Linked DNA regions of Homo sapiens: regions 1, 2, 3, 4, 6 and 7 are each linked to region 5. The links are contacts of gene promoters, found by promoter capture Hi-C in blood cells and fetal thymus (Javierre and others, 2016). All regions are on one chromosome and are shown on one strand. The core of a region is centred on a gene start or on the middle of the fragment in contact, and the rest is flanking DNA. Distances in the headings are between cores, read along the strand shown.

Region 1 (3,663 bases), core at 831-3,330, 780 kb after region 5:
ATTACTTACTGAAACAAAGTCGATTTCGTATACAGTCATTGAAGAGACCACCACCCTCTAGGCCTAAAAGCAAGAGACATGCCATTTTCTCTGTATCATTGCAGAGCATTGCCGTAAATATGTATGTCTCCCATGAATTGGCTTTGTTCACTGAAATAGTCTGGTATCCTATTTCTTGTAACTTACAGGAATTGTTTTTGTTTTTTTTTTTTTTTTGAGATGGAGTCTCACTCTGTCGCCCAGGCTTGAGTGCAGTGGCGCCATCTCTGCTCACTGCAACCTCTGCCTCCTGGGTTCAAGCAATTCTCCTGCTTCAGCCTCCTGAGTAGCAGGGATTACAGGCACGTGCCACCACACCTGTCTCATTTTTTGTACTTTTAGTAGAGACAGGGTTTCACCGTGTTAGCTGGGATGGTCTCGATCTCCTGACCTGGTGATCCACCTGCCTCGGCCTCCAAAAGTGCTGGGATTACAGGCTTGAGCCACTGCGCCTGACTGAATTTTTAATCATATAAAAAAGCAGAGAGGATAGTATAATAAACTTTACAATTACCCAGCTTCAGCAATTATCAACATATCTTACTTCGTTGATACTCCCTATTCTGTGCAAATCCTAAATGTAATCTCATTTTATCTGTAGGATGGATTTTTTTTTTTTTTTTTTTTGAGATGGAGTCTCACTGTGTGCTCTGTGGCCCAGGCTGGAGTGTAGTGGTGCAATCTCGGCTCACTGCAAGCTCTGCCTCCCAGGTTCACTCCATTCTCCTGCCTCAGCCTCTCAAGTAGCTGGGACTACAGGCGCCCGCCACCACGCCCAGCTAATTTTTTGTGTTTTTAATAGAAACGGGGTTTCACCGTGTTAGCCAGGATGGTCTTGATCTCCTGACCTCGTGATCCGCCCACCTCGGCCTCCCAAAGTGTTAGGATTACAGGTGTGAGCCACTGCGCCCAGCCAGGATGGATTTCTAAAAGACTCTCAACAACAACAATAAAAAAACACATAACCACACTACCATTCAACTAAAAATAATTAACAATGATTAATAATAATTCTTCTATCTCATACACGGCTGATCAGAATGTAAAATTGTATAATCACTGTAAAAACAGTTGGGCAATTTTCTTTAAAAGTTTAACATACACCTACCATAAAACCCAGCCATTTCACTTCTGGGTATTTACCCATGAGAAATGAAAGCATATGTTCATACAAGTTTACATGACTTACAGTAATTTTACTAATAATAGTGAAAAATGGAAACAACCCAAATGTCCATCAGTAGGTGAATAAACAAATTGTGGTATAGCCACCTAATAGACTGTTATGTTAACAGTCTGTTAACAATAAAAAGGAATAGACCATTGATACATGCATGCAACAGCATGGATGATTCTCAAACTAGTTATGCTAAGTGAAAGAAGCCCTACCAAATATATATATATATATATATATATATATATATATGGTCTATGATTTATATGAAATTTTTGAAAAGGCAAACTATAGTGACAGAAATACATTCAAGTGGTTGGGGAGGATATACATTTTAAGTTTTGTTTTTTTTAAACTAGGATCTAAGCAACATCCAAACATTGCATTTAGTTGATATAGTCCTGAAGTGTCTTTTAATATGTAGCCTCATCCTCTTATTTTATTTTCTTGCAAAGCGTTTGTTGAGAACACTGAGTCATCTATCCCAAAGAAAGTTTTCTGGATTTTTCTAATTGCATCCTCATGGTCGCATTAACAGGTTCCTGTGTCTTCTGTATTTCCATTAAACTGGTAGTTGGTAACAGGCAGTTGAAGCTTGATTATGTTCAGGTTTGATTTTTTTTGGCAAGAATATTTATTAGTAGTGTTGTTAATATTTCCTGTTGTATCATATCAGGATTCATATAATGTCTGGTTGTCTCTTTTTTTGATGCTAAAATTGATTAGTGTCTTAGATGTTGTCAACCTGATTTATCCATTGTAAAGTTTCCCATTACCTTCTTTAACTGTTTTTGCTTTCTATTGATGCTCAAATTGAGGAACCATATCTGGAGAAGAACTGGAAATTCGGAAATGTGGAAAGCTCTGGATTCTGAATTTTGAGTATACAAGAGTTTTACTGTGGTTGCTTAACTAGACAGCTTTCCTTTATTTCATGTTTACAATTTCCTGTTTGTCTTCGGGACCAGTGTGTCTACTGTGACCCAAGGTGTATTCTGGGATGCTTCATTGCCTCTTAAATTAGATGAACTGCTTCTGCGTTTTTAGTAACCTGTTTAGTAATCTGTTCCTCTTTTATAGCACTCATTATTCATATTCATTGGCTTCCTTGTTATTCGTCCCCACTAGATTGTAAGCTTCTTAGAAATAAGAATGTACTTCCAGGCCGGGCGCGGTGGCTCACGCCTGTAATCCCAGCACTTTGGGAGGCCGAGGCTGGGGGATCACGAGGTCAGGAGATCGAGACCATCCTGGCTAACATGGTGAAACCCTGTCTCTACTAAAAATACAAAAAATTAGCCAGGTGTGGTGGCGGGCGCCTGTAGTCCCAGCTACTCAGGAGGCTGAGGCAGAAGAATGGCATGAACCCGGGAGGCGGAGCTTGCAGTGAGCCGAGATCGTGCCACTGCACTCCAGCCTGGGAGACAGAGCAAGATTCTGTCTCAAAAAAAAAAAAAAAGAATGTACTTCTTATTCATCTCTTGACACATAGTAGTGCTGAATCAGTACATGCTGGATTGAATACATACACTTCCTTTTAATTGTTTAAGAAATGAACCCTAAAATAGCAGTACTGAAACATACAAAGGTAACATTTGATTTTCTCTTTTGAACAGAATTTGTGTGTAATATTAATAAGAGATAATAAAATATTTTTGTTTACTTTTTGAGTAAACTGCAGGGAACAAAGGAGAGGGAAGAGACAGATTTAGTTAGCTTTGTGCCGTCTTTATAGTCTTTTTGTTTAGGAAACTGTCTCCTCTCTATCAAAGAGTAAACATTTTTGTTTTTTCATTTTGGTTAAATGAATGACTATTTTATAGTGACCTATGATCATATTTTGTGATATCAAGTTTTTTAAACCTTTGATATTTGACAAACTTTCCGAAAGCAAAATTGCAAGTTCTAAGTTCAGTCTTTTTGCCTCAAACTTTTTTGGATATTGGGTTCCCTGAAGTCCAAGAGAGACTTATTAGACTTATTTGATGTTAGATTTATACAAGGAGGCATTATCAAATGCGAGGTGGTGTTTAACTTTCTTTGGATTATACTTACATAGATGTGGTATTAATATGTGTTCCAGGGCCAGGTGCAGTGGCTCACGCCTGTAATCCCAGCACTTTGGGAGGCTGAGGCGGGCGGATAACCTGAGGTTGGGACTTCGAGACCAGCCTGGCCAGCATGGCAAAACCCCATCTCTACTAAAAATACAAAATTAGCTGGGCGTGGTGGCGCATGCCTGTAATCCCACCGGAGGCAGAGGCAGGAAAATCACTTGAACCCGGGAGGCAGAGGTTGTGGTGAGCCGAGATCACACCACTGCACTCCAGCCTGGCGACAGAGCGAGACTCTGTCTCAAAAAAAAATGTGTTCCAGGTTGTATGAAATTCCTAAAATTCTGATGTCTTGATTATTATTAATATGTCAGTAATGACGTCTTTGTTACATTT
Region 2 (3,879 bases), core at 117-2,616, 930 kb after region 5:
ACCTCGTAGGCCAGCTATTAGTCCCAAATGAAGTGATATGAGAAGTATGTAGAATAGTGTTTGGTGCATATAAGTGCTCTACAAGTGTTACTATTTTTAAGACTGTTTCTCTGGAGTTGACAATCCTTCAATAGTTCCCCCTGTCTGGAAGGCGCCCCTACTCCCATTTACCAACCAGGCAAACTCCTACTCAACCATTAGGCTTTAGCTCAGGGGTCTATTTCTCATGAAGCCTTGGGTAACCCGTTTAAATATAATTTAACTTTTCTTCTTTGGACCTTGATCTTGAATCTCTCACTGCACTCAGCAACACGGTACTGTAATCATCTATTCACACGACTAGATTATCTTCCTTGTGGGCAGTGAGCTACTTGAGGGCAGGGGCAAGGTTTTTTTTTTGTTTTTGTTTTTAATTTCAGGACATAGCACTGTGCCTGATGCAGAGTAGGCAATTAGAAGCAATGAAAAGTATTAACTATGTATGGATATAGGAAAGAACCAGAAAGTACTGAGGGGGAAGAAAACACTTATTCTGCTAGGCTGACATTTTAGCCCTTGCTTTCATTATTTTCAGGTGGTTTCAGTCCCAAGTTAAAAACTGCTTTCATGCATCTGTGTAACCAACTGTTCCCCTTCCTGTTTTCTCCTTGGTTGAAAGAAGGGACTGGAGTGAGACCGCCTTAGAATGCCAGTTCCACCACTACCTAGTTATTCACTTTAGTCAAGTTTTTTTTAACCTTTCCAAGGCTGTTACCTCACTGCAGAATAAGGATGACAGTCATCCCTACCTCATAGAGCTGTTATGAGAATGAAATACTCATGTGCTCAATAAATGTCAGCTGTAGTAGTCATTTCTACAGAAATTCTGCTGAGGACTTTGACGCCCTTTCTAGCCATCTCCCAGTTTCGCACTGTTCTCTCTCCCACGTGCTGCAGTCCACCTCTCACCAGACACAAACTCTTGTCTTTACATCCACACCTCCTGAACCCTGACTTCGGTATAGTTTTAAAATGATACACATTCGTTGCTGAAAATTAGATTAAACGGAGGAAAAAAAATTAACTCACTTCAAATCTCAGCAGTTAACCACTAACATTTTAGTATGTATTTGTTTAGACCTTTTCTTATGCAAATACATACGTTTAAACTTTTTTTTTCCGAGAGTTCACATCATACAAATTTTATTTTATGACTCGTCCTTGCACTTAGCACGGTCTCTCCCCCAACCTATCTCTGATGCCTTGAGAATCCCCCCGCCCCGCTGCAGACCCCCACCACTTCCAGCTCCCAGCGGTCCGGCCTTCCCGCGGTCCCGGTTCCGGCCCCACCTGCGGGACGCCGGCCGCCCCGCCCCGCCCCGCTCCGCTGCGGCCGGCCTCGATCCCTAGCCCCGCACCCCGCGCCTCGCTGCTACCGGGCGCCTTTCGCTCGCGGCTCCTCCGTGCGGCCCGCTTCCGGTGGGGCCAGGGCGTCTCCGCCGCAGCTCGGCTCCCGCGCGCTCAGCACCGCCAGCGGCGGCCAGATGCAGGCGGAGCGAGGAGCTCGGGGAGGCCGTGGGCGGCGGCCAGGCCGCGGCCGGCCTGGCGGAGATCGCCACAGCGAGCGGCCCGGAGCCGCAGCGGCGGTAGCCAGAGGCGGCGGCGGAGGCGGCGGCGGGGACGGAGGCGGACGCCGGGGCCGTGGCCGTGGCCGGGGCTTCCGCGGCGCTCGCGGAGGCCGAGGAGGAGGAGGCGCCCCGCGAGGCAGCCGCCGGGAGCCGGGAGGCTGGGGCGCAGGGGCCAGCGCGCCGGTAAGAGGCGACGGCTGGTGGGGCTGGGACCGCGTGTAACTGGGGCAAGTGGGGCCGAGGCCGCCAGTCAAGAGCCGCAAGAGAGCGTGCCAGGCGCGCGCCAGACGGGCGGCGGCGCCGGCGCCTGCGCGGGACGGGCGGATGGTGGCGCGGGGGCGCGCCTGGTGGCGGGGGCGCGCCTGGGTATGCGCTTGGCCCTCGTGGCCTCCTGGCCGGGCTGGCGCGAGACAGTGGGGGTAGGAGGGCTTCCCAGCCTGCCCCAGGGTCCGGGTTAGGAACCCAGAGGCCAAGGCCGTGTGTCAGGGCTGCAAGTCTCGGCGGCCCGTGGGCCGGCTGGGCTGTCTGTACGAGTACCACTATGGGACGGAGGCGCGGCCACGACGTGGTCCCTCGGCAGCCTTTACGGGCACGCTCCTGTTATTAGGAGGGAAAGGATTTTTTGGTCTGTTTTGTTAACTGTCTGTGCAATGCCTAGTACACAGTAGGCGCATAATAAAAAGTTTGTTGAGTGAAAGAATGACCCCTACGACTGGACTCTAGTATTTGGGGGCGGGACCAGATGCATAGTTCTTTGTAATAGCGTAGTTCTCTTTTATTATGCCTGTATGTGTAGAAATCAGCGAGCACTGGGCTTTGTCGTTTTGAATTTTCAATTTATAAATGAGCAGTCAAGTTCTGAGTTTTAATAGCAATATCATCAGTCTTATTGACACATTCATAGAAGGAAGTTTTTGGAGATTGGAGCAGGGGATGATATATATGGGGGCAAAGCTAACCATATCTCAGCTAAAGGAGTTAGAGGACTGTCTTTTTATGAGTTGTTCTGTTACCTTAACATCTGTAGGACAAGACCATCTTTATATTCTGCATTCTTATGCACACTGATTTAAAAAATTCTTTTTTGCATGAGGCAAAATTTGCTCTTACTGAAGTATTTACAATATCTTGAGGGCATAGCAGATAAGATATCCCTAAAGAGAGTAGTTGTATACAGCAATACAGAGCTGGAAAAAAAAGTATAAAACTTAAATTTAAATGTAACAAACTTAAATCTTGTTAGGATTAAGATAGGTAATAGGCAAAACTTGAATGAGATATAAAAACATTTTTAGGGTCAGTTTACCTCGTGTAAACTGACAGAAACTAAGGTAAATGACAGAAACTAAGACCAACCTAGTGCCCACTATATATCACATTTTGTTCTTATAACTCTATTATATATATATAATATATATGTAATGTAGAATTATGTAATATAATAGTATGTAATTATATATTAACTACAATGTTATATATTATTTATATATCCATATATAGAGAGTAATCTTTATTTTTACAGGTTAACTGACTTGCCTAAGCTTTCACAGCTAGTGGCAGAGCTGGGATTTATATCAAGCTGCCCTTGAGTCAACAGTATTTTATCTCTTACTTTTTCGTGAACCAGTTACCACTTTATTGAGAACAAAGTAGATATTCCTTAGCTGCAGGGATCGTGCTTTAAGAGTAATTGTAGTAATGGTACATTTGGTGTTAACTATGGTGTCTGGCGCACAGGACTTTACTAATAAGTGTCTTTAAGTTGAATTGAGTGAGTGAAGGTGCTTCTGTTTTGTTAATCTCTGTTGAATTAAATTGGGTGAAATGATGGTATATATTTTTTTTTTTTTTTTGAGACGGAGTTTTACTCTTGTTGCCCAGGCTGGAGTGCAATGGCATGATCTTGGCTTGCTGCAACCTCCGCCTCCCGGGTTCAAGTGATTCTCCTGCCTCAGCCTCCCAAGTAGCTGGGATTACAGGCATGAGCCACCTTGCCCGGCTAATTTTGTATTTTTAATAGAGATGGGGTTTCACCATGTTGGTCAGGCTGGTCTCGAACTCCTGACCTCAGGTGATCCACCCGCCTCGGCCTCCCAAGGTGCTGGGATATGGATTACAGGTGTGACCCACTGCGCCTGGTCATGATGGTATATCATTAAAAGAAAGAATAATACAAGACTTTAAAAAATTTAAGATAGTATTGTAACACATTCTGTTAAAATTTTAGGCTTTTTCTTTTGTCGAGTTGGTCTTATCCCTTCATCATCATGTT
Region 3 (4,045 bases), core at 799-3,298, 760 kb after region 5:
ATTCACACACCATTCATTCAAGTTTTCTGCTCTTGATGATTATACTTAAGGTTTGTGCCTGAGCAAAAAATCCATTGACTATTTTAAGATAAATGGAGTTCATAAGCTTTATGTGTGTTATAATTTATGTTTTCAATTCCTTTATATCCTTTCCTGAAAGTTTTGAAAGTGTTAGTCTTAGCAACTTATGTATTACTTTAAAATAAAAAATTACATGTTAAATGTTTTCATCCCTAAAACTTATTGAGTGGTTATTCTGTACTTGAAATGGTTATACTTAAACTAATACCTCCTTGACAAGGAATAAATTTCAAAAGCAAAATCACTTAGTAAGAAATCAGCAGTTTATACTTATCTATAGCAGAGCTTTTAAATGTCATTCATCAGTTACAAAGCTTTCGATTGCCTGTATGCCCAACAGGGTGGTAGACCCAATTGGCTATACAAAAGAAATGTGCCGCAAGAATGACACTATGGACTTTGGGGACTTGGTAGAAAGAGAGTGGGAGGGGGATGAAGGATAGAAGACTACACATTGGATACAGTGTTCACTGCTCAGGTAATGGGTGCACCAGAATCTCGGAAATCACCCCTGAAGAACTGATTCATGTAACCAAACACCACTTGTTCCCCAAAAACCTATTGAAATAAAAAATAATAAAAATAAAATAAAAAATGTGCCAGGACAACCAACCTTAGGGAGATTAATCTAGTTTGGGTTATGAGATTAACAACAAAAAATATATATGACACTCTTCGTTAGTACAGTGGATGAATGCAGAACTGAACTGGGTAAAGCTTCTGCGAAAAACTAACAATTGCAGGATTTATGTAGGGCACTGAACAGAAGGGTGGATGGTGGGGCTAGGCAGGGTTGGTAATCCCAACACTTTGGGAGGCCAAGACAGGAGGATCTCTGGAAGCCAGGAGTTCGAGAGCAGCCTAGGCAACATAGCGAGACCATATCTCTACAAAAAATTTAAAATATTTTGCCAGGCATGGTGGCATGTGTCTGTAGTCCCAGCTACTTGGGAGGCTGGGGTGGGAAGATCGCTTAAGCCCAAGAGGTCAAGGCTACAGTGAGCCGAGATTGTGCCACTGCACTTCAGTGCAGCCACAGAACTGGTGTGGCTCACACCTGTAATCCCAGCACTTTGGGAGGCCAACGGTAGGAGGAAAGCTTGAGCCCAGAAGTTTGAGACCAGCCTGGGCAACATACCAAGACTCCATCTCTACAAAACATTTTAAAATTAGGGCCAGTGGGTCATGCCTGTAATCCTAGCACTTTGGGAGGCTGAGGCAGGTGGATCACAAGGTCAGGAGATCGAGACCATCCTGGCTAACACGATGAAACCCTGTCTCTACTTAAAATACAAAAAATTAGCTGGGCGTGGTGTCACACGCCTGTAGTTCCAGCTACTTGGGAGGCTGAGGCAGGAGAATCGGTTGAACCCAGGAGGCAGAGGTTGCAGTGAGCCGAGATCGCACCACTGCCTTCCAGCCTGGGCGACAGAGTGAGACTCCATCTCAAAAATAAAATAAAATAAAATTAGGCAGGTGTAGTGGCATGCGCCTGTAGTCACAGCTGCTTGGGAGGCTGAGGTGAGAGGATTCCTTGAGTCCAGAAGTTGGAGGCTGCAGTGAGCCATGATCATATCACTGCACTCCAGCCTGGGTGACAAAGCAAGACCCTGTCTCAGGGAAAAAAAAAAAAAAAAGTATTGTCTAGTAACAACAAGATGCATCATAACATTACACTAGTCAGTATTATGTTGATGTTTTATCAATCATTATATTTGTTGATCCATGTTAGTTAATTTGGTGCTTTCTGGAAAATGTATTTAGGAATATAATGTTTTTTAATTAAACACCTTAAACCTAATACAAATGGTACTTTTACTGGGAGCATACACTTTTTAAATTGGAAGGGTGTAATTTGACTTTTCTTTTCTTTTTTTTTTTTTGAGACGGAGTCTTGCTCTTGTCTCCCAGGCTGGAGTACAGTGGCAAGATCTTGACTCACCACAACCTCCACCTCCCGGGTTCAAGCTATTCTCCTGCCTCAGCCTCCTGAGTAGCTGGGATTACAAGCACCCACCACCACGCCCGGGTAATTTTTGTATTTTTAGTTGAGACGGGGTTTCGCCATGTCGGCCAGGCTGGTCTTGAACTCCTGACCCAGGTGATCCGCCCACCTCGGCCTCCCAAAGTGCTGGGATTACAGGCGTGAGCCACCATGCCCGGCGTAATTTGACTTTTCTTTGCCAGGTTCAAATGCTGTGTTTACTATTTCTTGCTCATCTAAGTATTTTTTCACTACCAGCTTAATACCCCTTAACTTTGGAGACTTCTGCGTTATATTTACCATTCTTGTTCTTGGAGCATAATGAGGGTAGAAATGAGAGAAAAGGTATTTTGAAAGGACTCCCTTTTTTGCTTCCTGTAACTACCTCTCTCTCCTTCAGTTTTATATACTGTCTGAAATTCTTTTTGCCTTGAGCAAGTCACCCAGAAACCTACCACCTATGTATGAGTCATGAGATGCTCATTCTAGCATCTCCTCTGCCCACTAGCATACTCTTAAGATGCACAGCTTGGTGTTACAGTGGGAAAGGCACTATTACTGTAAGTCGCAACGCTAAGCCTGTTAGTAACTAAGGGTTTTTGGGCAAGTGATTTAATCTCATCTGAAATTATCTCCAAGGTCGAGAATCTATAAAATAGTTACTTATTGAGGGGTGTTCTTTGGTGAGGAGGGAGACCTGTGGGGAAGAGGCCTCTGGATAGTCTTTTACATCTTAGTGTGATTAATCATAGATTATTTCTCCTAAAGGCATTTTTAAAAGCTACTTATATGATAGGATTGAGGAAGAAATCTTAGGATGGAATTTAAAGGCCAGTAGAATATAAGCTTCAGTACAGCAGGGATTTTTGTTTGGTCCACTGATGTTTCCCTAGTGCGTAGAATAGTAATTAGTCTGTAACATGTACTTAATATTTGTTGAACGAGTGAAGAAATGAAGGAATGGGTTGCTGGGGAAAGATAAAATTTGTTGGAGTACTGCGCAGATGCTCTGAGTATCTTGAAGGAATTCAAAATGCAAACCAACCAGAGTACAACCCATCATTCCTACAATGTAAAAATACCTCCCAGCAGTAGCAAAGTGTCTATTGTTCACTTAATCGCCTTTCAGAACTATTAAGCGATTACTGCCCTGGCTGCCCCTCTTACTCACAGAGTAAGATTTTGACCATCACCACATACTTAAGTGCCAGCTTGACATTTCAGTATGCATTTTACTCTTACTTTCAAAAACCTATGTCCTAGCCATTCCCTGTGCTACACTTAATATAATCAATAACAGGACATTTACTGTTGTAGCAAAAATGAATTATATATATTGATTAAAATTTGGCCTTTCATCCATGGAGGATTCATGGCATAGCATTTAAAAACTGGCACTCTTCAGGCACAGTGGCTCATGCCTGTAATCCCAGCACTTTGGGAGGCCTACGTGGGCGGTTCACAAGGTCGAGAGATCGAGACCATCCTGGTCAACACAGTGAAACCCCGTCTTTACTAAAATACAAAAAATTAGTTGGGTGTGGTGGTGCACACCTGTAGCCCCAGCTACTCAGGAGGCTGAGGCAGGGGAGTCACTTGAACCCGGGAGGCGGAGGTTGCAGTGAGCCGATATTGCACCACTGCACTCCGGCCTGGCAACAGAGCGAGACTCCATCTTAAAGGAAAAAAAAAAAAAAAAAACTGTCCCTCTTTGCCTTCCTGTTCCACAACTGCCATATAAATAATCGTCAAGAATAGTTTTTTCACATATAATTCGTATACAAAGTTTCTCAGTAAGTCTATTTTGTCTACAAGATAAAGTCCAAATTCCTGACCTAGCATTCAGGGACTTCTGCATTTTAGCCAACTACCTTTTTATTCTTTTCCCTTACAGTGGCCTGTACTCAATAATTACTTAATTATTGAATAGTTGGTATAGAAAATAAGGAAACAAAAAGCAGTTATTCTTGCCTACAAAGT
Region 4 (3,784 bases), core at 37-2,536, 950 kb after region 5:
AAAGCAGTTCAGCTAGAAAAGAAGGGCATGCCAGCCAAACAGCTTTCAAATGTCATGCATTGTGTGGCAGGAGTAGGTTTTAAATATAATGCATGTACTTGTCCTTATTGCAAACAATGCCGTCTTATTCCATCTACAAAATATTTGCACTTGAATTCTCTAAGTACAAATTTTGCAGTAGTTGTCATTTGCTTTCTATGGACTTTAAGAATGCTGCTTGCACAAGTGCTGTGGGTGCTCACTTCTTTTTCATGTTAATGTTGCCATGTGGAAGTGCTCTTATTTTATTTTATTTTATTTTTATTTTTGAGATGGAGTCTTGCGCTGTCCACCCAGGCTGGAGTGCAGTGGCGCAACCTCGGCTCACTGCAACCTCCACCTCCTGGGTTCAAGTGATTCTCCTGCCTCAGCCTCCCCAGTAGCTGGGATTACAGGCACCTGCCACCATGTCCAGTTAATTTTTGTATTTTTAGTAGAGACGGGGTTTCACCATTTTAGCCAGGCTGGTCTCAAACTCCTGACCTCAAATGATCTGCCCACCTTGGCCTCCCAAAGTGCTGGGATTACAGGCATGAGCCACCTTACACGGCCATGTGTAAGTGCTCTTAAAGATACAGAAAATAAGCCAGGCGCGGTGGCTCACCTGAGGTCAGGAGTTCCAGACCAGCCTGACCAACACGGAGAAACCCCGTATATACTAAAAATACAAACTTAGCTGGGCATGGTGGTGTGTGCCTGAAATCCCAGCTACTCAGGAGGCTGAGGCAGGAGAATCACTTGAACCCGGGAGGCAGAGGTTGTGGTGAGCCAAGATGGCGCCATTGTACTCCAGTCTGGGCAACAAGAGTGAAACTCCGTCTCAAAAAAAAAAAAGATACAGAAAATATTTTTTAGCTGAGTGGGGTGGTGTGTGCCTGTAGCCTAAGCTACTTGGGAGGCGACAGAGCAAAACTCCATCTCCAAAAAAAGAAAAAGAAAAAGATGCAATTTTTTCATAGAAAAATTCACCCAGGCCACAAATGAGAAAAGATAGGCATTTTATAGACTCTTCATCGGGGAAGAACTGAAAAGGAGAATAAATTCAAAAGAGGAGCTTCAGATGCTGGAAAGCTAGAGAAGCATACATGAAATCATTTTCTGTCAGGTAAAGTGTATATGCAGAAAAAGACTTTTCAGATGCATGGCCCAGTGATTCATTCCTCACCATTTGGTCAGTGTGTGCATATAGACTGTCTCCATATAAGGTAGGTGCTTAAAAGGAAGAGAATTTTGGTAGGTCCATTTGTTTTTTAATACAAAATGGCAAATCAAACAGCTTTTACTGGTTAGGGCTGGAGTTTGGCCCTTTTCTTATAAAAACAAGTAAAAAGTTATGTGGAGATTATATCTTGTGTCTTACGAAATTTGGCCTAATTTCATTTACAGCTTTTCATGACAAGGAGAGTAAGGTCGTAATTCAGTCAAGGGGCTTGAATGATGTGATATGAGGAGCTTTTATGAAGGCATACATAGCTTTATGAAGTTACAGCTGCCCATCTGTAAGTCAGAGCAAGTACTAATGAAAGTGCAGTGAGAATTGAAATCCATTTCAGAATTGTGAGGTGGTGTGAGAAGAGGGGATGTTCTGCCAGATGATGGCATTAACCCTTTAGTTAACAAGGATAGGTGCTTAGAGGCTTAAACCAGATGATCTACATGCTTTAAGAGAAATAGTATTGTTTCAACCAAATTTCTAATTTGCCTCCTTGGATTTATATTGTGCAACCAACTTGTAAAGGCATCAGTAAGAAAGTTCTAAAAGCAGAAAAGAACACTATCCTTTTAAAACCTCTATTTTTTTTTCTTTTTTTTTTGAGATGGAGTCTCGCTCGGTCACCCAGGCTAGAGTGCAGTGGTGTGATCTCAGCTAACTGCAAGCTCCGCCTCCCTGGTTCACGCCATTCTCCTGCCTCAGCCTCCCGAGTAGCTGGGACTACAGGCACCCACCACCACGCCTGGCTAATTTTTTGTATTTTTAGTAGAGACGGGGTTTCACCATGTTAGCCAAGATGGTCTCGATCTCCTGACCTTGTGATCCACCCACCTTGGCCTCCCAAAGTGCTGGGATTACAGGTGTGAACCACTGCGCCCAGCCTAAAACCTCTATTTTGAGGCATGGAAAAGGTGTTTAAAAAATCAAGACTCTTTTGAACTTGTTGTATGCATTAAAATGTAATTGCATACAAAAGAACTGCTTAAGACTTTGCAATTCTATTTTTCTAAGTTTTGCTACAATAAATAGTCATGTATTGCTTAATGGGGATATAGTCTGAGAAACATGTCGTTAGGTGACTTGTCATTGTGCAATACCATAGAGGGTACTTACATAAACCTAGATGGTGTAGCCTACTGTACACCCAGGCGGTATGGTATAACATATTGCTCCTGGGCTACAAACCTGTACAGCATGTTACGGTACTGGATACTGTAGACAGTTATATCACAATGGTAAGTATTTGTGTGTCTAAACATAAAAAAGGTACAGTAAAATTACTGTGTATAGGATGAGAAATGGTAAACCTGTATGGGGTGCTTTCCATGAATGGAGCTTGCAGGACTGAAAGTTGCTCTGAGTGAGTCAGTGAGTGAGTGGTGAGTGAATAGGAAGGCCTAGGACATTACTGTACACTACTATAGACTTTATAAACACTGTACACTTAGGCTACACTAAACTTATGCTTTTTTTAAATAATTAGCCCTAGTTTACTGTAATTTTCTTACTTTATAAACTTTTAAATATTTTTACCTTTTTGACTCTTGTAATAACACTTAGCTTAAAACAAACACATTGTACAGCTGTACCAAAATATATCTTTATAAGCTTTTGTTTTCTATTTTAAAAATACTTTTCTACTTTTAAAAGATTTTTCTTAAAAATGAAGACACAAACAATTACATCCATTAGCCTAGGCCTACACAGGGTCAGGATCATCAATAGTAAGCGGTGAAGCCAGCTGGACTTACTGGGTTGAGTGGGGACTTGGAGAACTTTTCTGTCTAGCTAGAGGATTGTAAATGCACCAATCAGCACTCTGTGTCTAGCTAAAGGATTGAAAATGCACCAATCAGCACTCTGTAAAAAAAACGCACCAATCAGCGCTCTGTGTCTAGTTAGATTGTAGATGCACCAATGAGCACTCTGTAAAAACACACCAATCAGCACTCTGTGTCTAGCTGAAGGATTGTAAAAAACACCAATCAGCACTCTGTAAAAATGCACCAATCAGCACTCTGTGTTTAGCTAAAGGATTATAAATGCACTGATCAGCACTCTGTAAAAATGCACCAATCAGTGGTCTGTGTCTAGCTAAATGATTGTAAATGCACCAATCAGCACTCTGTAAATGGACCAATTAGCACTCTGTAAAATGGACCAATCAGTAGGACGTGGGCAGGGCCAAATAAGGGAATAAAAGCTGGTCACCCCAGCCAGCAGCAGCAACCCACTGGAGTCCCTTTCCATTCTGTGGAAGCTTTGTTCTTTCACTCTTCACAATAAGTCTTGCTGCTGCACACTCTTTGGGTCTGCACTACCTTTATGAGCTGTAACACTCACCACGAGGGTCTGCGGCTTCATTCCTGAAGTCAGCGAGACCACGAACCCACCGGGAGAAACAAACAACTCTGGACGCACTACCTTTAAAAACTGTAACACTCACTGCGAAGGTATGTGGCTTCACTTCTGAAGTCAGGGAGACCACGAACCCACCGGAAGGAAGAAACTCGACACATCTGAACATCTGAA
Region 5 (3,532 bases), core at 43-2,542:
CAACATGAATCCATCTCAAAATCATTTCGTTGAGTGAAAGAAGGCATGCACTGTATTATTTCATTTATATAAAATTCCATGAAAAGCAAACTATAGTGACAGAAAGCAGATCAGTGGTTGCCTGAAAAGTGGGTGGGAACAGTGAAAGGCACAGATAGCAAAAGTTCACGAGGAAACTTTTAGAGGCTTTGATATGCTCATTATGATTTTGGCAATAGTTTCACAAATGTATGTTCATGTCAAAACGCATCAAATTTTACAACCTAAATATGTGTGGGTTATTGTATGTGAATTATTTTTATTATTATTTTATTTTTATTTTTTGAGGCTAGTCTCGCTCTGTCACCAAGCTGGAGTGCAATGGCGCAATCTCGGCTCACTGCAACCTCCGCCTCCCAGCTTCAAGTGATTATTCTCCTGAATCCGAGTAGCTGGAACTACAGGCGCGCGCCACCACGCCCGGCTAAATTTTGTTTTTTAGTAGAGATGGGTTTTCACCATGTTAGCCAGGCTGGTCTCAAACTCCTGACCTCAGGCAATCGGCCAGCTTCAGCCTCCCAAAACGCTGGGATTACAGGCGTGACTACCGCGCCTGGCTGGGTTATTGTATGTCAATTTTTACCTCCATAAAACTGTTAAGGCCTGTAATCCCTGCACTTTGGGACCCTGAGGCAGGCGGATTACCTAAAGTTGGTGAGTTCGAGACCAGCCTGACCAATACGGAGAAACCCTGTGTCTACTAAAAATACAAAAATTAGCTGTGCATGGTGGCGCATGCCTGTAATCCCAACAACACGGGAGGCTGAGGCAGGAGAATCGCTTGAACCCGGGAGGCAGAGGTTGCTGTGAGCCGAGATTGCACCATTGCATTGCAGCCTGGGCAACAAGAGCGAAACTCCGTCTCAAAAAAAACAAAACTAAACTAAAACACTGTTAAGGGCAGTTAAAACCCAGCCCATATTCCCAGGCTGTTTTTTTTGTTTTGTTTTGTTTTTTCTTTAGGGTTGAAAAAAAACTAAATCCCCATTCACCGCACACGGCACTCTTCACTAACCACGAGAAACCCCACCCAACACCATCCACCGGGTCCCTCCCTTGCCCTCCTAATCCCGCCAGCGAGGTGTCTTCTCTCTGCCGCCCGCTAGAGGGCGTGTACAGAGGAGGTCAAAGCTCTTGGCTCGCTAGCTCAGCCCCAACGCCTGCATGAACTTCCGGCTACACGCCATTCCGCTTCCCGAGGAACGCTTGGGCTGTTGTACGGGTTCCCTACGGGACTCTGAAGGCTGAGGATATCCGGCCCGGAGCGTTTGTGCGGCGCGGAGTTAAGCGCCCCGGCAGTAACTTAAGGGAAGTGGACCAGGGTTGCCGCTGCCCAGAGCGGTCCTTTAGTTTCCACTGGAGTGGAGGGAAGAGTGCTGCCATGGCAGCCCCTGCGCAGCCCAAGAAGATCGTGGCCCCTACGGTGTCCCAAATCAATGCGGAGTTCGTGACCCAGGTGAGCTCGGGCGAGTCTGGTGTGTGTGAGTGGGTATGGACGTCGTGGCCCCGAGGCCTGGTGGTGGGGTTTTTTTTCAGGATTTAGGAGTCCGGAGGAGGCATTCGTTTGTTAATTGATTCACACACGTCTTTTTACTGAGTATCAGCTCCGTGCCGGCCACTATGCTAGGTGCTGGGCATACCGTGGTGAAAGAAGCTGCCCTGCCCTGGGGAGTTCATGGCCCAAGGAAGACAGACGCATGAAAATAAAACTACTGTATGAGTTTTGCTGTGTTGGAGTTTGTCTCAGGAGCAATGGATTCAGAGAGGAGGGAACACCCCAGTCTATCTGAGACTGGCAAGTAGGCTTCGCAGCAGAGTGATGCTGGACTGCCTCTTCAAGTAGGAGTAGGCTTTTTCCTGGTCCTTAGAGTGTCCTGAGTTTTTGAGCAGCGATGAGAAACTGACAAGACACCTCCAAATAGACCTATCTAAAAACAGAGTAATTCTGTAGTTTGAGAGCGTTCATTTAGAATCTGTTTACTATCTTGCATTGTGAGCCACAGTTGGCTTTGGATAGGGAACCACAGTCCTGTGGTTGTCAGCATCATTCCTCATTCTTATTATTTATTTGTGAATTGCATAAGAGTGTAAGTAGTTCAATGTAGAAGTTATCATGCCCACCTGCTTCTTTATTCTTTATTCCTTGTCTCAACAGATTTGCCAGGGCAGAAGCCTAGGGAGTGATTTTGAATCCTCCCTTTCCCTTAGTCCCTACATTTCTACATTCTAAATATCTTTTGAATCTATCTGGTGTTCTACATCTCTGTCACCCTAAGCTTGGTTGCCATTGTTTTCTGCCTGGACCAAGGTATCGTAATCTGTTATATTGTCCTTCCTCTTGCTCTGCTCTAGCCCATTCTTCATGTTGCTTTCCGAGTGATTTCATACAAGTGCAAATCTCATCATATCACTTGCCTTCTTAAAATTTCTGCCTTCCGGCCGGGCGCAGGGGCTCACGCCTGTAATCCCAGCACTTTGGGAGGCCGAGGCGGGCGGATCACGAGGTCAGGAGATCGAGACCATCCTGGCTAACACGGTGAAACCCCGTCTCTACTAAAAATAAAAAGAAAAAAAATTAGCCGGGCATGGTGGCAGGTGCCTTTGGTCCCAGCTACTCGGGAGGCTGAGGCAGGAGAATGGCGTGAACCCGGGAGGCGGAGCTTGCAGTGAGCCGAGATCGCGCCACTGCACTCCAGCCTGGGCAACAGTGCGAGACTCCGTCTCAAAAAAAAAAAAAAATCTCTTCCTTCCTTTCCTTCCTTTTCTTCTTTCAAGATAGGGTCTCACTATGTTGGCTGGGCTCCAGTGAGCCTTCCACCTCAGCCTCCCTTGTAGCTAGGACTACAGGGACTACACTAAGGCTGGCTGTCCTTAAAATCTTCAGCCGGGCGCGATGGCTCATGCCTGTAATCCCAGCACTTTGGGAGGCCGTGGCAGGTCGATCACCTGAGGTCGGGAGTTCGAGACCAGCCTGACCAACATGGAGAAACCCTGTCTCTACTAAAAATACAAAAGTAGGCAGGCTTGGTGGTGCATGCCTGTAATCCCAGCTACTCGGGAGGCTGAGGCAGGAGAATTGCTTGAACCCGGGAGGCGGAGGTTGCAATGAGCCAAGATCGCACCATTGCACTCCAGCCTGGGCAACAAGAGCAAAACTCCGTCTAAAAACGAAGCAAAAAAAAAGAAATCTTTAAAGAATTCTAATTACCCTTAGGTTAACGGCTGAAATCCTTCATAGTGTTGTGTGATTTGACCTGTGCTTATATCTTCAGTTTCCTCTTTTTCCTCTTCCTTTCTAACTCTGTGCCTTAGCTGTACAGAACTTCGTTTATTTGAATGTGCCATGCTATCTTTCATCTCCTGGCTTTTCAACATTGTTCCTCTGCTAGGAATCCTCATTTTTTTTCTCCCCACCTTCCTTTATTCATTCTCAGCCTTCTACACTACTTTAGAGAGGCTTTTCCTGACAACTTAAACGAGATTAGAGGTCTCT
Region 6 (3,903 bases), core at 709-3,208, 910 kb after region 5:
AAAAGCAAATCTGTTTTCCACATTTTGCTCAGGTTTGCCCTGTGAAGAGATTAGAAAGCAAGATCTCTGAAAACAATATAAGAACCTTAATTCAACAGCCTGGAGAAAATCTTCAGCCAGTGAAGGGCTCTTACACAATTAGTCTTCCTAAGAACAGAGCATAAATAAATGGGTTCAAATGGGCACAAAATAGAATGCACAATATCTGTTTAGATAAAAGAAAAAATTTCCACTGGCAAAAACTAAAATAACTGACTGTGGAGACTTGATCCATCTTTATTAGTAGAAAAGAGGCCCCTTGAAAGGACTGGGTATGACCAGGTTTCAGTCCTTCCAGACTCTGGATTCTGAGAGGAAGGATGGTTCCCTGGAGATCAGCATGGGTTCAGTGAGTACAAGGAATTGACATTGGATATGAAAGGGAAGAGCAAGACCTTCACTCAGATGTGGGGACAGGAAAACAAACCACAGTATAGTATAGACCACATAATAGCTGCATAATAGATAGTGATCAGTTTATGAAGATACATATTCTTAGAAGCCTGTTGAATATCAGTCTCGTTAACAAGTGACACTGTTGTACATTCTCCTGCTGGTTCTCACTGGCACAAGACAGCTTCATAGACACATACATATTGCACAAAATTCTATGACAGGTTTCCACAGGAAAAGGTTTCCACCTGGTCTCTGCTGTTTCCTACAGAAGGGGCATAAGTTCCCTGAGTCACTGTTCATTGTTACCCAGTGTGCTTCCTCTTGTGAAGGGCCATGAGCCTATCCCTTTACTTCATTGGCAAACTCCCCTGGCATCAAATGGCCTTGGTCATAGGCAAGAGTCATTTAATATGTCAGCAATTGCTGCAGCTATGGCCCCTTCCATTTGGCAACCAAACTTGAGCCTTTACAAAAATCTTCAAGGACTCAAAATGAGATGTCTTCTTTTTGAAAATATACAAACCAGAATCAGCTTGCTCATCCTCAGAGGATGTTGACTGTGGTCATTGTTCTTTCGAGAGGAGTTGTTGACTTTTCAGGGTAGCTTGCTGTTCCCCTGCCAGTACAACTTCTCTTCCACTTTTTTCTTTTTCCATCGGCAGAGAAGCAGCATCTTAAAGGTCTTCCTGAAGGTTCTGTTGCAGAGGGCATAGCAGATGGGGTTGACAGTGCTATTGACATAGCACAACCAATAGCCCAAGTGCCACAGGGTGACTGGGACACACTTGTCACAGAAGGTAGAAACCAGGACCATGATGTTATACGGGGTCCATGTGATGATGAAGGCCAGGAGAATGGCACTCAGTGTCTGGGCTGCTTTCCTCTCTTTGACTAGGACCACTCTCTTTCGTTTGGTCATTTGATGGCTGGGGTTGGGATTGAGGCCTTTCGTTGAAGGTTCCTTGGCCACTGGGAAGGGGCAGGGCATGATTTTCACCTTGTGACAGCCATTGTTGGTCTCCTGGTTCCCGTCAGCTTTTACCACCAATCGGAACTTATAGGCCACACATTTCTGACTCTTGGGTCTATGAGCAGCTGCTGGAGACAGAAGGTAGTTTGGGGTGTCATAGTCACTTTTTTCAGTTTCAGCTTTCACAAAAGTTTCCTCAGTCTCTTCAGCACTGAATTCTTCCCCTGGGCTTTCCTTACCCTGACTCTTGTAGACCACTTGGAGGACAGGGTCAGTGGCGGGCTTGTCCTCATCCTCTGAGGAAGGGTAGCTGCTACAGGTGGTGAGCTGCTCAGCTTTGGCCCAATTGGCGCTTGGGCCAGTGGCTTGGGATGGCTTCCCAGTGGTGGAGGTGCTCCTGCGGGAGGATGACCAGGAGGCCTGGTTCCTTTCCCGCTGGGCCAGGGTGGGTCGAGGACAGCGCAAGCAGGATCTGAACAGAGCCCTATGAGCTGGCTTTCTCTTCTCAGCTTTGGTCACAGAGTCAGAACCCTGGAGGTCAGCCAGGTCCTTGGTTCGCTTCTCTGTTTCCCGGTAGATTCGACAGTAGAGGATGGTCATGACAGAAACAGGGATGTAGAAGGCAGCAATGGCAGTGCCAAAAGTGATGGTGGGCTCAGAGAGAAACTGGATCTGGCACTCATCCAGTGGAACTGTCCGCTTCCCAACCAAGTACTGCCAGCAGAGGATTGCTGGGGCCCAGAGGATGAAGGAGATCAGCCAGGCCAAGCCAATCATGATGCCAGCCCTTTTCGGAGTACGCTTGGCCCGATATGTCAAGGGTCTTGTGATGGAAAAGTAACGGTCAAAACTGATCACCAGAAGGTTCATGACAGAAGCGTTGCTGGCCACGTAGTCCAGTGCAAGCCAAAGGTCACAAGCCAGACTCCCGAGAGCCCAGCGTCCCATGAGGATGTAGGTGGTGTAGAGGTTCATGGAGAAGATTCCAATGATGAGATCTGCACAGGCTAAGCTGAGCAGGTAATAGTTGTTAACTGTCTTGAGCTGGCTGTTGACTTTGAAGGAGATCATGACCAAGACATTGCCCACAATGGTGATCAGGCTTACCACAGCAGTCACAGCTGCAATGGTGATGACTTCCCACAACCTGTGGCGTTCCAAAGGCTGGTGATTTACTGGGGTGCCATTGACGGTGGTTGCATTGTGGTAAGAATCCCCTTCCATCCTGGTGCAAAAATTTTACAGTAAATAGTGTTAGGTTCTAGGCTGTTTTCTATTTCAGCTCTTCTTGGCCAGCATCTGGAAGAGAGGGAAACACATTAGCTTCGCACACCAGCATGATTTTCTTGTCCATCCATTGTTTATAGTTTTTTTTTTTTTTTTTTTTGAGACAGAATCTCGCTTTGTCACCCAGGCTGGAGTGCAGTGGTGCGATCTCAGCTCTCTACAAGCTCCGCCTCCCGGGTTCAGGCCATTCTCCTGCCTCAGCCTCCCGAGTAGCTGGGATCACAGGCTCCCACCACCACGCCCAGCTATTTTTTTGTATTTTTAGTAGAGACGGGGTTTCACTGTGTTAGGCGGGATGGTCTCGATCTCCTGACTTCGTGATCCACCCGCCTCGGCCTCCCAAAGTGCTGGGATTACAGGCGTGAGCCACCGCGCCCGGCCCATTGTTTATAGTTTCTAATGGAATATTAAACGTGGCTGCACACATATTCAGAGCAAGATGCTGAAATCTCTAAAGTTTGATCACCTATTTTTAATGGCATCCTTTTGCTTTTTGTTGTTACCTATGGCTGAGTGCCCTTCTTATGCATGAGGCTGCTGCCCTCTTGTGGCAATTTTAAAAAGGGCTGGGAAGACGAGGAGGGTGAAGGGAAAGGAAAAAAAATGGATTGTTGAGAAGCAGTAAAGAGAGGAAAGCAGGGATGTTAAATCACTTTAGATTGCAATGATCATAAGGGCTGAAACCCTATATTTTTAAGATCCTGGTGATAAATACCTAAATCGTCATGCACTGGGGAAAAAGTGGTATCTATTCTATAGTCCCAGTCTTGATTATTAAACATTACTGAGGTGCCGTTGTGAGCCAAGACCATATTATACCACCTCTCCTTGCCCTAATGCACAAACTCCAAGTGCATATCTGGTTTTCATCTAGGGGGTTTTACATTTGCCCCAGCTGCTGAAGATAAGGACCTTCTCTCTGTTCCTGAACTATTTGCAATATCATAGAATTGTTTTAGGTTATCTTTTTTCTGGTTATAGAGTAATACATTCCTTATAAAAGCTCAAACAATGTCAAAATGTAAATCTTAGAAAGCAAAAGTCTCCTCTAATTCCACCTTGCAGAGGTAATCAATGCTAACAGTTTAGTGTATATTTTGGCATTTTCCCATATGCATATACTAATAAATAAATATTTAAATACAATTTCCCCTATGCATATACTAATAATTATTTTAAATGGGTGCCTTTTACCATTTACAATTTGAATT
Region 7 (3,953 bases), core at 214-2,713, 840 kb after region 5:
ACTTTGGGATAACTTGAGCCTAGGAGTTCAAGGCCAGCCTGGGCAGCATAGCAAGACCCTGTCTCTTCAAAAAAAAATTAAAATTAGCTGGGCCTGGTGGTGAGCACCTGTACCCCTAGCTACTTGGGAGGCTGAGGTGAATGATCGCTTGAGCCCAGGAGTTTGAGCCTGCAGTTTGAGTTATAATTGGTTTTGGTGGGTGTATGTGCACCACTGAGACAGAAAAGTGCTACAAATTAGTGTTTCCTGGTTTGAGTATTAGAGCAAGGAACAAAGAAAAAAAATAGAATGGCATCAGAATTCTCTCTAAAGAAGGGGCTGCAGTCTTTTTGTGCTTAGTTTTGTTTTTTTGTTTTGCTGAGGTTTTAACATAAGGATTAAGCTGTTAGGGTGCTTCTCTCCCTGAGATGGCAGAATGAAAATTGAGACAAGAACATTCTCCTGCTGCAGTCAGGCAGCCCTCTCCCAGCCTGTTTCCTGAGGATTCCCAGGTTCCCATCACCATGTGACCTACTCCAGCAGAGGAGTGAAGGATGGTAGTCTAGGTCAGGAGGGTCACAGCACCATGAAAAGCCCAGGGATCTGTCATTTACTCTTCAAGAAGAGTAATTATAATTTGAAATACTTTAAATGACATGTTTTTGGAAGGGGAGAGGCACCTGAAATAAGCATAATTAGGGGCCCTCTGGCAACTCTCTTTTGTTCATATTGAGGATGAAATTCTTTGGGTTGAGCTGTTTAGAATCTCCTACTACTTCACTTTTTCTGTCTGTATCAACACAAAAGTTTGGGAAACTACAAACTCCAAATCAAATTTTCAGGTGTATTGTTGCCGACAGATTGTTATGCACATAAATGCTGATATGTAAAATCATGCCTTCATAGAAAACAGACAAAACAGACCCCATTACATGTTCCTGCTGCTTGAGGCTTTGTGGACTCTATTGGAAGATACACTTTTTTTTTTTAAGTAAAAAGTAGTATAAAGCATGTGAGTGGAAGGAGTATGCTTGTGTTTGTTGTTTTTGTTTATGTTATTTTTGCTGGCTGCAGCTGGTTAAGGGTTGATTACTTCAGTCTGGAGGAATCTGGGAAAACATGATCTTTGCACTTAGGCTAGTAGTTCAGGCAATATATATCAAATACCAAATTTGTTCAAATACTTTATAGGCTTTCTGTGGACAGAATTCCTTTATTGTTGTCTACTAATTGAATAGTTTTCTTACTCACATTGACGAAACTGCTGTGTTCCTTATATTTTACAGTTAGTTGGGAATAGATAGGCTTTAACAGGATACAGGGAGGAAGCATCAATAGCTAGCATAGAAACCGAAGAGCCCATCACTCTTCAACTTTACACAGAATCTGCTCAGATTTAATGACATCAACTTACTGCTGCTAGTGACCTAACTGGAACTTCCTGGCACCTTGTATAGTTTTAGTAATTTCAGAAATTACTGTATGTTACTTTTTTTTTTTTTAAGAGGCAGGGTCTCTCTGTCACCCAGGCTGGAGTGCCCTGATGTAATCATAGCTCATAGCTCACTGCAGCTCGAACTCCTGGGCTCACGGGATCCTTCAGCCTCAGCCTCCTGAGTAGCAGGGACTGCCCAGCTAATATTTCTTTTGTTTTGTAGAGACAGGGTCTCGTTATGTTGCCCAGGCTGGTCTCGAGCTCCTGGACTCAAGCAATCTTCCTGCCTTGGCCTCCCAAAGTGCTGAGATTACCATTGTGAGCCACTGTGCCTGGCCACTAGCTTCTTCTTGTTCCTGGCTTTGCTTTCTACCCTCATCTCATCTCAACATCACACACATACATACTCCACCGTATGCCAGGGTACTCTTGGGCCATTTGGTTGGACATACCCTGCAATTTCAGTCCAGGCCTTCAAACTTACTGTTTTTCTCTGCGGAGAACACTCACTCCTGTCTCTGCCTTTTTCCCTTCATCCATCCTCCCACCTTCTCTGAAAATAACTCTTTCTTGAATCTTCAAGTCTTAGCTTGTTCTTCTCTTCAAATTTTTGTGTTGGGTGCCCCTTCTTTGTGCTCTGAGTGTATCCTGTTCTTCCCCCATCATGGTACATAAGTATAATTGGCTATACTAAATTTTACTTATTTACCTGTCAGTAGCCTCTTAGGTAGGATCAATGTTTGTCTAACTCACCATTGTAACTCCAGCTCCCTGCTCTGTGCAACCTAAATATAATAAGAAATGTTCAATAAAAATTTGTTGAATAAATGAATAAAGGAACAAAGAGCTACTGGGTGTTTAAAATAAACTAGAATATTCAGACGAGACCCAGGTGCCTGTTCCTATCAGTCATTCATCCTTCTTGGCTGTAGCCACCAACCAGCACCTGTTTTTCTATCAAGAGAAGATTCATTCCGTAATAGAACTCCTGTAACAGGACCCTGCCATGCTGTCAATGAGCATATCTGCAAACCCTCTGTTACTGCCATTAGGATTCACTCCCTCACACATGGATCATTAATTGTAAGACTGCATATTTTGTCGCAGAATTAATGTAAGGTACTTATTCTGTATGGGTACCTAGCACAGTACGCTTTACAGTTGCATTGTTCCATAGATGTGTGCTGATAATTATAAACCCAGGGGACCTCCAGCAGCCCATCAGGATCTCTGCCAGTAGATCTTGCATGAAAGCCATTTTTCTCACCATATTGGTTATGCCTCTGACCAGCTCCAAGAGAAGGGCAAAAGTAGGGAGCTGACCGACTCTATCATCAGCACTGTCCATCTCTGTTCAGGGACTTCACTGCTGACTTCTGGGACAGTTTCTGCCCTCGCCTCACCCCTACCCCTACCCATTTGGAATCATAAAGTATCTAGGAAATAAAAAGTTGTTCTTACAGATAAAAATTAGGGACCTTTGAGAACCAGAGTTGCATAAGTCTAGGATAGGGCAATTGAATTTCTCCACTGGAAATGTAGTTGAAGATTCTTTATCTGAAAAATTGTTCATTTTAATGTAATAGGCCAGAGCACTATAACTAAAAAAACTGTGGTTAATTCTGCTTGCTGATTACTATTATCACTTTTCGGTCTGGTATTATAGACATATGCCTTCATCACCATAAGACTATTTTTATTTTTAAAAAGCATTCTGGTTTTGAGGGATAACTTTGGCTTAGGATATAAAACCAGTCTCCTAAATCTTGGATTTCCATAGCTTGTGACTGCTGTGTTGCCTAGAATATGAAACAGGTGGCCATCTCATGCCATTCATTTTCTTCTGTAAAATGATCTCCCTATGTGATATGGAAGTATTTTTGTAAGTGATATAAACACATTAAGAATGGAAGAGACTAAATATAATTACTTACTTTAAAATAGATAAAACATTTGTTTGTAGTGTGTATAATATACACACTTGTATGTTTCACCCTTTCCAGAACAAATATATGGTCACAGAAAGCTTAATATGATCATATTAAGTTGATCCTGTTTCTAATCCTGCATTAATCACAGCAAGGTCACACTGAAATCATCTAGTAATTAGTCAACATAATAATAATAGTTCCTTTTTTTTTTTTTTTTTTGAGACAAGGTTTCACTCTTGTTGCCCAGGCTGGATAATGGTGCGATCTCAGCTTACTTCAACCTCCACTTCCCGGGTTCAAGTGATTCTCCTGCCTAAGCCTCCCAGGTAGCTGGGATTATAGGCACCTGCCACCACGCCTGGCTAATTTTTGTATTTTTAATAGAGATGGGGTTTCACCATGTTGGCCAGGCTGTTCTCGAACTCCTGACCTCATGATTCGCCTGCCTCGGCCTCCCAAAGTGCTGGGATTACAGTTGTGAGCCACCACGCCTGGCCAATAGTTCCATTTATTGATTGCTTTTCACTTGCCTATAGCTGTGGTAGGTGCCTTATTTACATTCTCTCATTTAATCCTCATACAATCCTGGGAGATAAATAAGTACTCTA

Evidence for each region. Contacts are between HindIII fragments. The CHiCAGO score rates a contact against its expected background, and 5 or more counts as called.
Region 1: a fragment that was not itself captured here is called in contact with the fragment with the promoter of AQR in region 5 in 1 of 17 cell types (total CD8 T cells); the score reaches 5.3 in total CD8 T cells.
Region 2: a contact is called between the fragment with the promoter of AVEN here and the fragment with the promoter of AQR in region 5, in 9 of 17 cell types (naive CD8 T cells, non-activated CD4 T cells, total CD4 T cells and 6 more). The highest score is 10.0, in naive CD8 T cells.
Region 3: a contact is called between a fragment that was not itself captured here and the fragment with the promoter of AQR in region 5, in 7 of 17 cell types (fetal thymus, total CD8 T cells, monocytes and 4 more). The highest score is 12.0, in fetal thymus.
Region 4: a contact is called between a fragment that was not itself captured here and the fragment with the promoter of AQR in region 5, in 2 of 17 cell types (naive CD8 T cells and total CD4 T cells). The highest score is 7.1, in naive CD8 T cells.
Region 6: a fragment that was not itself captured here is called in contact with the fragment with the promoter of AQR in region 5 in 4 of 17 cell types (non-activated CD4 T cells, fetal thymus, naive B cells and 1 more); the score reaches 8.8 in non-activated CD4 T cells.
Region 7: a fragment that was not itself captured here is called in contact with the fragment with the promoter of AQR in region 5 in 1 of 17 cell types (non-activated CD4 T cells); the score reaches 7.4 in non-activated CD4 T cells.

What each region holds. Positions count from the first base shown.
Region 1 is chr15:34,188,957-34,192,619 of GRCh38, reverse strand. The region is part of intron 1 of KATNBL1 (katanin regulatory subunit B1 like 1); the gene reads left to right. Among named protein-coding and RNA genes, the nearest start is that of KATNBL1, 19 kb to the left of the region's middle. The HindIII fragment of the contact is 542 bases long and covers 1,810-2,351 here.
Region 2 is chr15:34,036,691-34,040,569 of GRCh38, reverse strand. It overlaps AVEN (apoptosis and caspase activation inhibitor), which reads left to right and starts at 1,366. Exons shown (of 6, transcript NM_020371.3): 1 at 1,366-1,790. The coding sequence starts at 1,524. The region is part of intron 1 of CHRM5 (cholinergic receptor muscarinic 5); the gene reads right to left. RefSeq lists silencers at 1,274-1,443, 1,624-1,833, 1,924-1,983, 2,334-2,393. The HindIII fragment of the contact is 8,272 bases long and covers 1-3,150 here.
Region 3 is chr15:34,204,711-34,208,755 of GRCh38, reverse strand. All of the region lies in intron 1 of KATNBL1 (katanin regulatory subunit B1 like 1), which reads left to right. Among named protein-coding and RNA genes, the nearest start is that of KATNBL1, 3.4 kb to the left of the region's middle. The HindIII fragment of the contact is 1,731 bases long and covers 1,183-2,913 here.
Region 4 is chr15:34,018,380-34,022,163 of GRCh38, reverse strand. All of the region lies in intron 1 of AVEN (apoptosis and caspase activation inhibitor), which reads left to right. All of the region lies in intron 1 of CHRM5 (cholinergic receptor muscarinic 5), which reads right to left. Among named protein-coding and RNA genes, the nearest start is that of AVEN, 19 kb to the left of the region's middle. The HindIII fragment of the contact is 3,153 bases long and covers 1-2,862 here.
Region 5 is chr15:34,967,502-34,971,033 of GRCh38, reverse strand. It overlaps AQR (aquarius intron-binding spliceosomal factor), which reads left to right and starts at 1,292. Exons shown (of 35, transcript NM_014691.3): 1 at 1,292-1,495. The coding sequence starts at 1,421. RefSeq lists enhancers at 1,189-1,298, 1,349-1,498, 2,667-3,231. The HindIII fragment of the contact is 5,969 bases long and covers 1-2,317 here.
Region 6 is chr15:34,061,444-34,065,346 of GRCh38, reverse strand. It overlaps CHRM5 (cholinergic receptor muscarinic 5), which reads right to left. Exons shown (of 3, transcript NM_012125.4): 3 at 1-2,704. The coding sequence starts at 2,629. The coding sequence ends at 1,031. It also overlaps a transcript of AVEN not described here. Among named protein-coding and RNA genes, the nearest start is that of AVEN, 24 kb to the right of the region's middle. The HindIII fragment of the contact is 4,430 bases long and covers 1-3,903 here.
Region 7 is chr15:34,123,267-34,127,219 of GRCh38, reverse strand. No RefSeq gene overlaps it. Among named protein-coding and RNA genes, the nearest start is that of PGBD4, 23 kb to the right of the region's middle. The HindIII fragment of the contact is 3,958 bases long and covers 1-3,442 here.